4 separate regions of the Homo sapiens genome follow, and all the other regions are linked to region 2. Evidence: promoter capture Hi-C in 16 types of primary human blood cells and fetal thymus (Javierre and others, 2016). All regions are on one chromosome and are shown on one strand. Each heading gives the region's core, a stretch centred on a gene start or on the middle of the fragment in contact. The rest is flanking DNA. Distances are from core to core; before and after follow the strand shown.

Region 1 (3,052 bases), core at 518-3,017, 660 kb before region 2:
CAGGGAGTCTACTATTTTTGCATCTTCTTGTGAGTCTGAAATTATTTCAAAATAAAAAATTAAAATAAAAGTATGAGGCAGCATATAGGAGTGCCAAGAGATTATGGGGACTCTGAGCAAGCATTCAGCATGTCAATACAGCCACAGCTGCCTGGTGTAGGACTCATGTGACTTGGGAAGAGATGCTGAATGAACAACTGGAATGATTCTAAACCAAACTACTCAGAAAAAAAAATTTCTTTTATCTTTCCATTTATTAAAATGTAGAAAAATTTATGTTTTGTCCACCATTTAAAAATTAGTCAACAACATAAAATGGAGATGTATATTACTGTCACAACTACTGACCAATATTTATTGGGAAAACTTTGCAATGTGACAAAGGATCACTCTTAAGGATGTCTGGGGAGACCAGAAAGAGATTTAAAGTTTATGAAAATAACTGATGACACAATCCGTTGAGGCCCTACTGTGTGTCAGGTTGACCAGCTGGTGTCTTGGGTGTGGTTTCCACAAGAAAGCCTGGCATTAACACGTCATTAACAAGGACGGACTCCATGTGGTATGGAGCAGTCCAGGAGTAGACAAGGTTCAGGGTGTCCTGATGCAGGACCTGGGAGGCCAGAGTGCTGCCCCATGGAGACCACGGTTACCCAGGTTAACAGCAGGACCTGGGATGGAGAGGCAGCCTGGGGCCCACTCCCTCGCAGGTAGGGAGGTGGCTGCAACAAGAGGACAACCAACAGGAGGGCCCTCAAGAAACAGAGGTTCTTACTGACGAGGAGACAGAAACAGCTGGAGGCAGCACCAGGAGGGAGGAAGAACTTCCCCTTGAGGGGGCTCAAATCCTGAGCAAGGGCCAGGTCTCTGTCACAGCCAGGGCCGGAAAGCAATGCTTAAAGAAGAGGCCAAATCAGCAAACAGTTTTCCATGCCTCATCCCCCTCCAAAGGGTTCCCGCTCCAGGACCTAGGCTGCATGGAACTGTCACCAAATTCAAGTTAACGGCCTGTGTTCACCTTTGGGAATTCACAGTCCTATTTCGGTCTTGTTTTTATGAGTGTGGTTTCAGCTGCCCACCCCAAGACGTACCCCCTCAAGCATGTGCTTACATAAAAATAACTCTGCCTCCCCAGCCAAGCCCTTAGTGAGAGGACAGGGATGTTGGGGTTTTGCTTTGTTTTTTGCTAGCCCTGTTTTCTGAAACTCTGCAGCAGCTGCAGGCCAGCGAGCATCGGACAGGTGTTCTTCACCCAGAGACGGGACGGGGAGAAGGCAGAGCTGCAAATGTCAGTGCAGAGGATGCAGAAGAGAAGAAAATCAACCCAGGCGTCCAATAAACCAAGTCTCTTTCTCCCGAGCATAAATGAATCCCATCCCATCAACAGGTTCTCCCCTTGGGGTCCTGGCACTGACTGTTCCCTCCTTCCAAGCATCAGACAGCAGCACCCTCTGAACATTCAAGAATCAACGGAGATGTCACCTTTGTGGAAAGGCCTTTCCCGCACACCAGCTGGTCACTCCAGCACATGGCCCTTATGCCTGTCTATTCTCTGATATTTGCGACCTTGTCTGCTGCCTGTCTCTCTCCATGAGGATATGCCCTCTGTGAGCACTGGGACCCTGTGTGTCTAACTCACTGCTAGATCCCCAGCTCCTAGAACAGCATGGGGTACACAGCAGGGCCTCAATAAAGAGTTCTTTTCACTGGAGGGTGACTCTCAAGAGGATGTGCAGAGCCTGAGTCAGAAGAGTTGAAGACATTGAAGGGCCAGGCTCCCCAATGTTCTTCTTGATCAAAGCTGAAGGATTAGGGCAAGTCACTGACTTCTGCAGGCCTCCGTTTCCCCAGCTATAAACAGACGATCTGAAAGACACTCACCATCCCTGCACTATGGGTCAAAGTTTTCAATTATTCACTATACTCTTGCCTGTTTTCCTTTCACCCATCTGTCTGTCCATCGGCCCAATCATTCTTTCCCATGGACTAGGCCCTGGGGATGCCACGTTGAATAAGACACATTTCCTGTTCTGAAGGAACAGATAACCTTCCAGTGGCAGAGACACAAAGGAAGCAATTCTGCACTGACCAGCTATCTGTCAAAGGAGACTCCTGGGCCTCCAGCCTGGGCCACTGTGGGGATGAGAATGGGGTCCTTCCCCAAGAGAAAAACAGATCTAAAATTCCACCACTGCTACCAAGTGATGAACAATGTGTGTTAGTTACAATCAGGGAATCTGAACATGAAACTCAAAGACAGTCACAAAGTCTCATCACAGATTGAGGACAAATGAGGCTCATTCCTGAGACCACTGTGCTAATTATCTGTCCCTTATCTTTGCCATAGGAGAACTGGAAATTCTCATTAGAAGAATGATTACAATCACTGCTAAGTTCCCTCAGCGTTTCTTAGCTAAAGAGCTTAACGAATCCAGGTCCATGCATGCACACACATGCACGCATGCACACACATGCACGCATGCACACACACACGCGTGCACACACACACAAATGCCCAGCATCCATCCCCGGAGACTTGATGTAACAGCTGATGTAGGACCAAAGTATGTGCATTTCTTTCAATAAGCTCCGTGGGGGTTGCAAAGCGGCACCCCTGATTTATAGCCACAGAGTTTCTGCCAAGTTTACTTCTTATTACAGTTGTAAAGGTGCTTTAGAATATCAGTGATAACAATGAGATAGATATCCATAAGGATTTTAACAGAACTTTCCTAAGCACAGAGAACACTCCAGCCACAAAACACTTTTATCTACCTCATCAGAGCTAAATGGTGCCTGGAAACATAAACGCTGGAAGGACCAGCCTGAGGACACAGCCGCCCTGTGGGACCACACCCCCAGGCCATGCAAGAAACCTGGCCCAGGGAGATCTCCCGGCCTGGTCTCCACATATTTCTTTCAATGCTTTCACCCAGCGTACCCTTGAAAAAACAACTTCCTAATGTATCCTGGAGTCACAATTACAGCCCCTTGCTTATTACGGGCTTGGCCAAATCAGATAAAATTTCATTCTCTGAATTGGTTCCTAATT
Region 2 (2,765 bases), core at 217-2,716:
CCATTCATCAAACGCTGCAAAGAGCTTTTCTTTGTTCACCATCGTCCTAAGTACAGTACGTGTTAATGAGCCCGGGCGGTCAGATGGAAGGAGCTCGGCTTCAGGGGGCGTCCGAACGCGAGGGACCCGGGCAAACCTGTCCGCGCGGTTCGTCGCTGCTGCGGCGCCCCGGCCCGTACTACAAGCATTGTTCCCCAAGTCCGAAAATGGGGGTGGAGAGCTGGGGGCTGGGGGACAAGGTGGGGGGGCGGGGGGAGCGAGAACACACTTGGGACAACACAAACCGCAAACCCTCCCCGGATTCTGGGTGTCCTCGTTTCTTTCGTCTCTGCCCCAAGAGAAACCCTGAGCGGGGAACCTGACTCCCACGGGCTTGCAAAATCCAAGACTAGCAAAAATGTGACTCGACCAGTGTGCCTGTGCCGGACGGCCCTTCTCGCCATGTGCAAAAGCCACGCCGGCGCGGACGCCCCCACTCCGCAAGCCCCAGCGGTGGCCTCCCCGCGGGCTTCCCCCGCCCGGGACAGAATGCCCCCTCACCCCCATCCTGACCGCCCCGGACAGTCCAGCAGCAGCGGAGCCCGCCGCCTCGCTCCCGCACCCCGGGGGTGGCGGGTGCAAACTTCCGCGAACAAAAGAGTTGTCTGCAAACGATGCGGGAACTTCGGGGCGAATGGGGCCGCCCGGCTCCCGAGACTCCGCGCCTCCTCCGCAGCGGCTAGTCAGGGCTCAAGTTGAGACGCGGAGAGGACACCCCCGGGCGCAGCAGTCCCCGCGCCCGCCCGCCCTGGCCTGGGGAGCGCAGACTTTTCCGCCGCAGCCAGGCTTGTTCTTCCCCATGCCTGTGCTCTGACAAGTCTCACGCCTGCATCAGGGGCGAGACCGAGCGCCCGGAGAAACCGCCCGACCCAACCCAAAGGCGAAACAAGGCAGAAAAAAAGGAAACCAGCAACATTAGGAAAAAAGAAAAAAAAAAGGCAAGCCCATTGCGCACGCGAGCCGGGCTCCCTCCAGCCAGCGGCCGGGACGCACACGGCCCGGACCTCGCTCGGGGCCAGCCCCCCGGCCACCGCCGCCGCCGCCCGGCCCCGGGTCGCTTACTGTGCGCGGCGGGGCGCTCCGGGCGCGGACCCCGCGCCGTCACCGCCAGCGCTCGCCAAGTCGTCCGGGGTGCCCGCCGCGCGTCCGCCGCGCGCACGCTCGCCTGCCGGCGCCGAGCGCTTTGTACGAGCGACTCCCGGGGAGGAGGAAATCGACTTGTCACTTCCTGAAGTGTTTGCAACTCGTCCCTTTAACCGGCACCGGCCAGGCCGCCCGCACCCGCCGCCGCCGCGGAGCCGCCAGACCGCGGCTGCGTGAACTCGGCCCGGCGCTTAGCGGGCGGTGTCGCGGGCCCGGGCGCTAGGCGCGGCGGCGGCGTGCAGGAGGCAGGCGGCGTGCGGCGGCGGCGGCAGGCGAGTGTGCAGTGCGCGCAGCCGCCGATGGGCGGGGAGTGAGGGACTCGCGGCGCGCCGCCGGCGGGGCTAGAGGGCGTCCTGCGGGCTCAGCCGCGCGCCGCTCGCCGCGCTCGCGCCTGCGAGGCCCCGGGACGCGGGAAGTGGCCCCGGGCCTGGGCCGCGCCACCGCGGCTGCCCGGGCCCCGCGCCAGAGGCCCTACGGGCTTCTCTCCCCGCCCCCAGCACGAGCCGGGATGAAAACGCTGGGCCGCATAGGCTTCAGGCGTCCAGCTTCCGGGTTGTTAGATGCCGAGGTTCAAAAGAAACGATCACTTCAGTGGCGTGCAGGACAGCGGGCGGGTGGGGTCGGGGAGGGGGGACCTTAAAGTGTTGTCACACTTTGGGAAAATAAAGCGCAAATTTCCTAACTCGGGGCGCTGTGACTGTGTACTTCAGAAGCCACATCCAAAATACATGCAACTGGCGAAGGAAGGATTTGTGGTTGCTAAGCAGAGGCAGAGCATGTTTAGTTCTGTAACTTAGGATGTTGACTTAAGTTCAGGAATGTAACCCTGATAGAATAAGCAGAGTATTTTCATTGTGCTGCTCACCTGGGGGAGGGGGATTGTTTTCCTTGTGAAGCCCTAGATTTCCCATTACTCCTTCCTACTGGTGTATGTTATTTTATTGACCTTGTATCCAAAAAGCGATTTTTAAAGAGAAGTTTTTTTAAAACTCCCTATGCCTGTTTTGTGTTCTCCTTTGCCAAAAAAACAAAACACCTCATTACTTTACATGGATTGTGTCTGCGCCATTTGAATGGTTCTATTCATAAATAAGGAAACTTTTTCTGTTGCTTCTAGGAACATTTAATTGGTTTTAATCCAATGTTTCAATCCCAGTATCAAACATAAATGAACAATTAACTTCTTGAGCTTTGTGTGCTTGGGAAACTATTATATTTCATGGCTATTGCTGAAATATTTCAGAATATCATCACACCGGACCCATTCTTTTCAGAAAAGCATGAACTGACATCTCCTTTCACACTACAGCTCGCTCCACTGAGTTCTGCTGCATGATTAGAATGGACAGCAATCAGTGGAAAGGATATGAGTCTATTCATTTCAAGTTACATGATGTGGGATAGAGTCAGTTCATCCTAGAAAGCCAAAATGAGCTAACATACAGAATACAGCATACTAAGATATTGATATCCTTACCCATATACGTTGCTTTTTAAAAATGCATTAAGGACCAATCTTGAAAGGAACAAGATCCAAGAACCGATGGTGAACAAAAGAAGGCCCAAGGAATAATCTAAGAATG
Region 3 (2,845 bases), core at 319-2,818, 640 kb before region 2:
CATCCAAGGAAGCAGCTATGTCTCAGCTCCCGCTGGATGGAGGACGGGAGTCTGAAATTTGAACATTATTGTGAAATAGCCCAATTTAAAAAATAAATCTTGGATGGGCAACTAAATCAGAAAAAATAATTGTACAACACAGTGAGAACCAATGCCATCAGATTGCAGGAGAGTCCCACAGGCCATCACTTTGCAACCTCTGGGGTGATAAACACCAGCGGCTGAGTCTGTGGCTCTGCACCAATGGCTTCCAGGTGCTCCAGCTAAGCTGAGCCTGCAAGGGTTTGAGTAGGACTGAGAGGACACTGCCCCGTCTACAAGCTCATGCAGTTGGCAAAATGCACACAGCTTTGCAGGAGTTGGGATGGGACTCATTGGCCCTTGAATCAGTGCCCTGTTCAGAGTACCATCCAACCCAGAAATGGGCCAGATGCTGTCTGAGAATCCCACCCCAGCAGACTAGAACCAAACTGGAACCCAGGGGTCTCCTCCAGGATCCTAAGGGCCACCTGTCACCTTGCTCCAGATTTGCATGTTTTTGCTCCAGCAGCATATGCCAACAAGGACTGCAAACATTTTCAGATGACAGTGTCACAATTACAATCCTTGGGGCGGTTTGCTATTTCCTGTTTTCTCCTTTTATTCCCAAGCCAGGCCAGGCTCTATCACGGGAGGGGGTAGAGGGGTGATGGAGCTGAGACTAGGACAAAACAGAGGTGGAGCAGGGCCTACAGATGGGGCACAACTCACAGTGGACACCACCTTTGATGGTGGACACCACCTTTGATGGTGTCCCTGCTGCCTGGGGCCACCTGCCTCTAAACATGGCATCACAATGACTTCTCGCTTTGGAACAGAGTTTGCAAAGGCTCCAAGGCTGGTGTTATATTGTCCCCTAATGTGGCCTTCAGGTCTCTCCTAGGAGAGCAGCTATAAGCTCTAGCCCTGCCCTGACAGCGCTGCAGGGGAGGTGGTTGTGTACCTTTCATGGGATGCTTCTTTGCCCTGGGGAACGGCTTGATTGAGGCCTAAGTGTCTGACCCATGACCAGGTGTCCCTGTCCTTTGTGCTGGCAGATGCCCTTGTGACTCTTGCCTGACTTGTGTCCAGTTTATTCCTACCAGGACAGCCACTCTCTAGGACAGCACTGAGCAAAAGGGAAGGTAGATTTGGGTGTGTCAGTCAAGTGAGACACAGAGGAGGTAACTCAGCAAAACACATGAAATAACAGAACCAGGTGTTATTACTTACAGGTCCCAGAGAGAAGAGGGCAGCATGCCTCAGGGCCAGCGGGCAGCAGGGAGCTGTCTGGGGCACACAGGCTCCACCAGCACGTCGGGAGCAGGGCCGGGGGGACCCATGGGCCAGAACCTTTACTGGGGTCCAGGGCCTTATCTAAGCAGGTTTCCCATGGGAGTTATAGCTGGTGGGTTTAGAGCAAGCAGGCACACGTTCCATGGGGTTGCTGTGGTAGAGAGGGGGTCGCTGCGGCATATCTGCTCAGTCCATGCAGTCTGGACGTCAGTGGGGTGAATCGAGTAGGCTGTACCCAGCTGTCCCATAGGTGGTGGGGGACATGGTCACCAGGAGGCCTGGTATAAGGCAGAGGTCTGGATCAAACACATTGAGGAACTGGGAGGAGCCAGAGAAGTGGAAACTGTCAGGTGGGTCCAAGCTCTACCTCTGGTCTGAGAAAGTTAAATTTATATTCAAAATGGATGCTGGGGCAACATAAAATTCTAAGAATTCAGTCCAGGTGGAGACTCTGATCAGGGGCTACCCCCTCACTATCCCCATGCCTCTGGGGATATCTGGCCTCTGGTTGGGCCCCGGGTGGTGGCAATTTTCCAGGAGGCAGGAGCCCAGCCTCTGAGAAGTGAAGGAGTGGAGAAGGACATCTCCTGGACCACAGAGGCCCCCAGGCACTGCACCATGTGTAGGGCTGGCTTCTGTCCTTCCAGAGTGGGAAGCCCCATTGTCTTTACCAAGATGAGGAGGCCGTGCCCAGTCGTCCTCCGAGCCAGGTACTTGTCTGCCTCCTGCAGGTGCCCAACAGGGGCTGTGTTGGAGTCGAAGCTGAAAGTCACCCTCTGGCCCCATCTGCTAATTATCTGCCTCCCCCAGGCTGGGCTTCTATAAGTCCTGGGAGTGGAGCACCAATCTCTTCCCAGCAGGGAGCACATCTGAACCAGCCTTCCAGCAGGCCTTCCCCATGCCTCCAAGGCACTCAGAACTCAGAAGCCGATTCCTTCAGGATCTGCCTCAAAAGCAGCCGAGGGGGGCTTCTCTCTCCCCACAGGAACCACTGAGGCTAACACCGTCATCCCACCTCTTGTCCTCAGGCCAAACAAAGTTGTTACTTCCCTGGCTGCGATCAGGGTCTACAGCTGCCTCCTCAGTAGGAGTGGCTGTAAAAACAATTATTTCTTCTTTCATCTCAGTCAGAAAACTAAGCCGATAGTTGAAGAGGCAAAGAATCAAATATTAATAGAAATGGCTGTGTAATTCTTATTTGGAATATTAATTATGTGAAGGGAAAGACAGACGAGTTCTTTTCTGTGAAGTCCTAGTGAAGGAGCTCTCCCCAGTCTCATCAAAAAGCCTAATACAAATAAACAAGGTCCCAAGGCTGAACAGGACCTGCCCCAGGCAAAGTGCTGCAGTAGCAACACACCAAAAATAATCATGCCGTAAGTATCTCTGTGCAAACGCACTTATATTCATGCAGTTCTTTGGGCCCTGGTACCTATCTCTTAAAGGTTCGTGTAGGAAATATTAATGCCCCATTTTATAAGTGAAACAATAAGCTCAGAAAGGGGAAACCTCTTACCCAGGGACTCACAGC
Region 4 (3,084 bases), core at 245-2,744, 730 kb before region 2:
CTCTGGCTTGCTGACTCAGAACCCAGAGGCTCTCCAGAAGGCGGAGGCGGGCAGGGCCAGGCTGCCTTCCCTAGGTGTTCTCTCCACACCCAGTGCAGGCCAGCTGGCTGCATCCCCAAGCTCCAGGACGCTCAGAGCAGAGCTGAATTCTTGAGAAACTGGGGTCTCCAATGGCCTCGGATAGAGGAGCTCTGTGAGGGGTCCATTGCTGAGCTCTCGAACATCACGAAGGAAATTCCAAAATGGTTATAATTCATGTGTGCCTAGAGTGGCAGAGTCCTGGGGTTTTCCATACCATGAGTGAAACAGTTCCCCGCAAAGAGATTTGTAAAATCCTGATGATGACGGCATTGGCGGGCCCAGCACGTGCAGCAACAATTCAGCTCTCACGTCGTCTTCCACGCAAACGCCTCATCCGCGAGGACCTGCGCCAGCCTAGCGTTGAAGGGCCTGTAGAAATCCCGCAGAATCTTCTGTGTGATGGGCCACATGGGCCCCAGGTTCCGGTCCTCGGGACGCCGTGCATTGGATGCGGGGCTCTTGGTCATCAAAGCCTCCTGCTTCTCACTTAAGGGCCCTAGAATAAAAGAAGACGAGTCCCGTAAGGCAGGAGGCATGGCAGGAAGTAAAAGGGACTTTGCAAAAATCCCAGCTATGCTTCGTATTCAGACAGGAGTTTCCTTTAAGAGAACATATTTAGGGATTAAAATTCTTTGGCTGGATCCATTTTGGAAGCACTGAGGGAGGAAGGTGGAAACACCATCAGGAAATTGCGAAGAAATTCTGCGGCGGGTGCAGGATGCCCACCCTCGGGGGAGCCCAGCTGGCATTTAATGATGATACAGCGTCTAAGGCTGACCTCAAGGATTCCCTTCCAATTGCCCTTGGTGGGCTGCTCTCCATGGGTGTCAGCCCGTCCTTGGAGGAACGTGCGGCCTGCCGAGCACAGCCCACGGGTTTCGGTTTTCCTGCTCAGCAGCCCTCTGGAATTCCGCCATCATCGTTTCTACTTCAGGCTGCTCATGCCAAGGTCCCTGGGCCTGCACAGTTTCACCCTGTGCGTCTTGCTGTGAAGTGGCCATAGGGAGGAGGGCTGGGAGGAGGCCACTTGTGCCCAGAGCCCCCACTGGCTGAACCTCCATCTGCAGCAAGGAGATCAGGGAGAAGAGGCCTGCCGGCAAGGGCTGTCAGTCACCCCCACGCCCCGCCCTCTGGAGTGAGGCGAGGCCCTGGAACAGGCTGGCAGAGGTTGTCAGTCACCGCCACGCCCCGCCCTCTGGAGTGAGGAGAGGCCCTGGAAAAGGCCGGGAGGGGCTGTCAGTCACGCACACGCCCCGCCCTCTGGAGTGAGAGGCCCTGAAACAGAACAGCAAGGGCTGCGACCCCAACGCCCCGCCCTCTGGGCCACAGCTTCTTGGTGTAACCCATCACTGCTCAAGCCTCTTTACCGGGGGCTCTTGGGATCTGGCCAAAGTCCTTAGCCCATAGACAGAAAAAGCATGTCCCAGCATCCTAGGGCCATATGAAACACAGAATTGGCCTTACTATCCATCTTGGGGACAAAAGACAAGCTCATTAATGGGACAGAGTCAACATGTGGTCAAATCAAAGAAAGATGATTCTAAGCCTTGGAAGGGAAAGAACTCATCAAACTCCAAAAAAAGGAGAAACAAAATCAAATGATCAAAGAGGCCCAAGTCCCAGTGGCAGGCAGATATATTTTCAGAAATACTCAATTAACCAAGTTCCCGGGCAAGACCATTAGTCAGGGCTGCAGGAGGCGTTCTGGGAAGGAGGGCGGCTTGTTCGAGCCTGCTCAGCCTTTCAAGCCATCCCTCGGTGCCCCGTCCACATGGGCAGCACTCGCTCCGCCAGCACATGCCTCTGCCAGCCATCACCATAGTCAGCAGTGTGGCCTGTCACCACAAAGTGACTCTCAGGCCCCTGGGGGGGCTGGTATCCACAGGCTGAGGGCAGGCGCTCATGCCCCAGGGGCCCAGCATCCATGATCAGCAGCCAAAACTCAGCCACACGGCTCTGACTCCTGGAATTTCCAAGAATACCGGAGATGATGCAATGATCTGTCTGTTCCCTCCTCTAAGCCCCAAGTCCTCTGCTCCAGCCCCCCGGTGACATCCTGTTGGTCCTACAAAGCTCAGCTCTCAGGCCCTTTCCTTCCATGAAGCCTTCCTCATCCGTGCAGTAGCTGGGATCCCAAACCATCAGCACATACCTTACATGACAGTGCTGACCTTCCCCACGGCATCCTACCTGTCATTCAGTTAGGTGAGCTATGGCTTCCTCCTCTCCCTTCACTAGACCATAAGCTCCCAGAAGGGAAACCATCTCCTTCTCTCCAGAGAATCCCTCACCATACTGTGCACAATGACCTATGTACAGCTAGTGCTCAATAAATGGTACTTAACAGGCCTCCTGAAGGACATCCCCAGGCCTCCCAGCTCAGCCCATTCCCACCCAGCTGACCAGGTCTGCATTTGCCCCAGAGGACTCCCAGAACAAGTCCACGGAGCTCATGCTTTGGCCCGTCAGTCTAAGCACCACACTCATACCTAGGTTCAGAAACTGGAAGACCTTGTGCATGGTGTACTTGACGTTGGATGCATGATCTTCCAGGCGAAGAATGAGAAACTGTTGCTTGTCAAAAACGCTGAGCCAGTCCAGAAGGTACACAGCATAGAGCCCAACCTGGAGCCTCACCTAGGACCACAGAAGAAGGGCATTATTTCAGGAGCAGTTGCCCCAACACCATAGGGCACTTTTCCAAAGTGGTATGGCATTTCACTGTACCACAAAAGAGTTATCCTAGCAAAGTTACTTTCAGAAGCTGGATTTTAACACAAGGTGTTCTTGCTTCTTTATGGGGGGTTTTGTGCTACATGTGCAAAGAATTCCTATATTAGGGGTTGCATTTCATCCTCACAACACCCTGTGGGTAGCGCCATGCCTCCATTTCACAGGTAAGGACTGAAGTGCAGGGAAGAGGTCAAGGTTGTGGCCACCAATGGTGTACATGTTCCTCGCACAATATCCTGGCTGTTTCTCTGTTCCCAGTGTGACCTCTAT

What was found. The method cuts DNA at HindIII sites, captures the fragments that hold promoters and counts their contacts. A CHiCAGO score of 5 or more calls a contact.
Region 1: a fragment that was not itself captured here is called in contact with the fragment with the promoter of FAM53B in region 2 in 1 of 17 cell types (total B cells); the score reaches 7.5 in total B cells.
Region 3: a fragment that was not itself captured here is called in contact with the fragment with the promoter of FAM53B in region 2 in 2 of 17 cell types (naive B cells and total B cells); the score reaches 7.0 in naive B cells.
Region 4: a contact is called between a fragment that was not itself captured here and the fragment with the promoter of FAM53B in region 2, in 5 of 17 cell types (naive B cells, total B cells, neutrophils and 2 more). The highest score is 12.3, in naive B cells.

Annotation. Positions count from the first base shown.
Region 1 is chr10:124,078,899-124,081,950 of GRCh38, forward strand. All of the region lies in intron 1 of CHST15 (carbohydrate sulfotransferase 15), which reads right to left. Among named protein-coding and RNA genes, the nearest start is that of CHST15, 13 kb to the right of the region's middle. The HindIII fragment of the contact is 3,880 bases long and covers 1-3,052 here.
Region 2 is chr10:124,742,912-124,745,676 of GRCh38, forward strand. FAM53B (family with sequence similarity 53 member B) reads right to left here and starts at 1,467. Exons shown (of 5, transcript NM_014661.4): 1 at 1,102-1,467. RefSeq lists silencers at 346-425, 516-725, 1,046-1,205, 1,256-1,365, 1,386-1,435 and 1 more. The HindIII fragment of the contact is 7,750 bases long and covers 1-2,765 here.
Region 3 is chr10:124,103,138-124,105,982 of GRCh38, forward strand. No RefSeq gene overlaps it. Among named protein-coding and RNA genes, the nearest start is that of CHST15, 11 kb to the left of the region's middle. The HindIII fragment of the contact is 4,592 bases long and covers 1-2,845 here.
Region 4 is chr10:124,009,763-124,012,846 of GRCh38, forward strand. CHST15 (carbohydrate sulfotransferase 15) reads right to left here. Exons shown (of 8, transcript NM_001270764.2): 7 at 2,571-2,718; 8 at 1-577. The coding sequence ends at 387. Among named protein-coding and RNA genes, the nearest start is that of CHST15, 82 kb to the right of the region's middle. The HindIII fragment of the contact is 4,917 bases long and covers 1-3,084 here.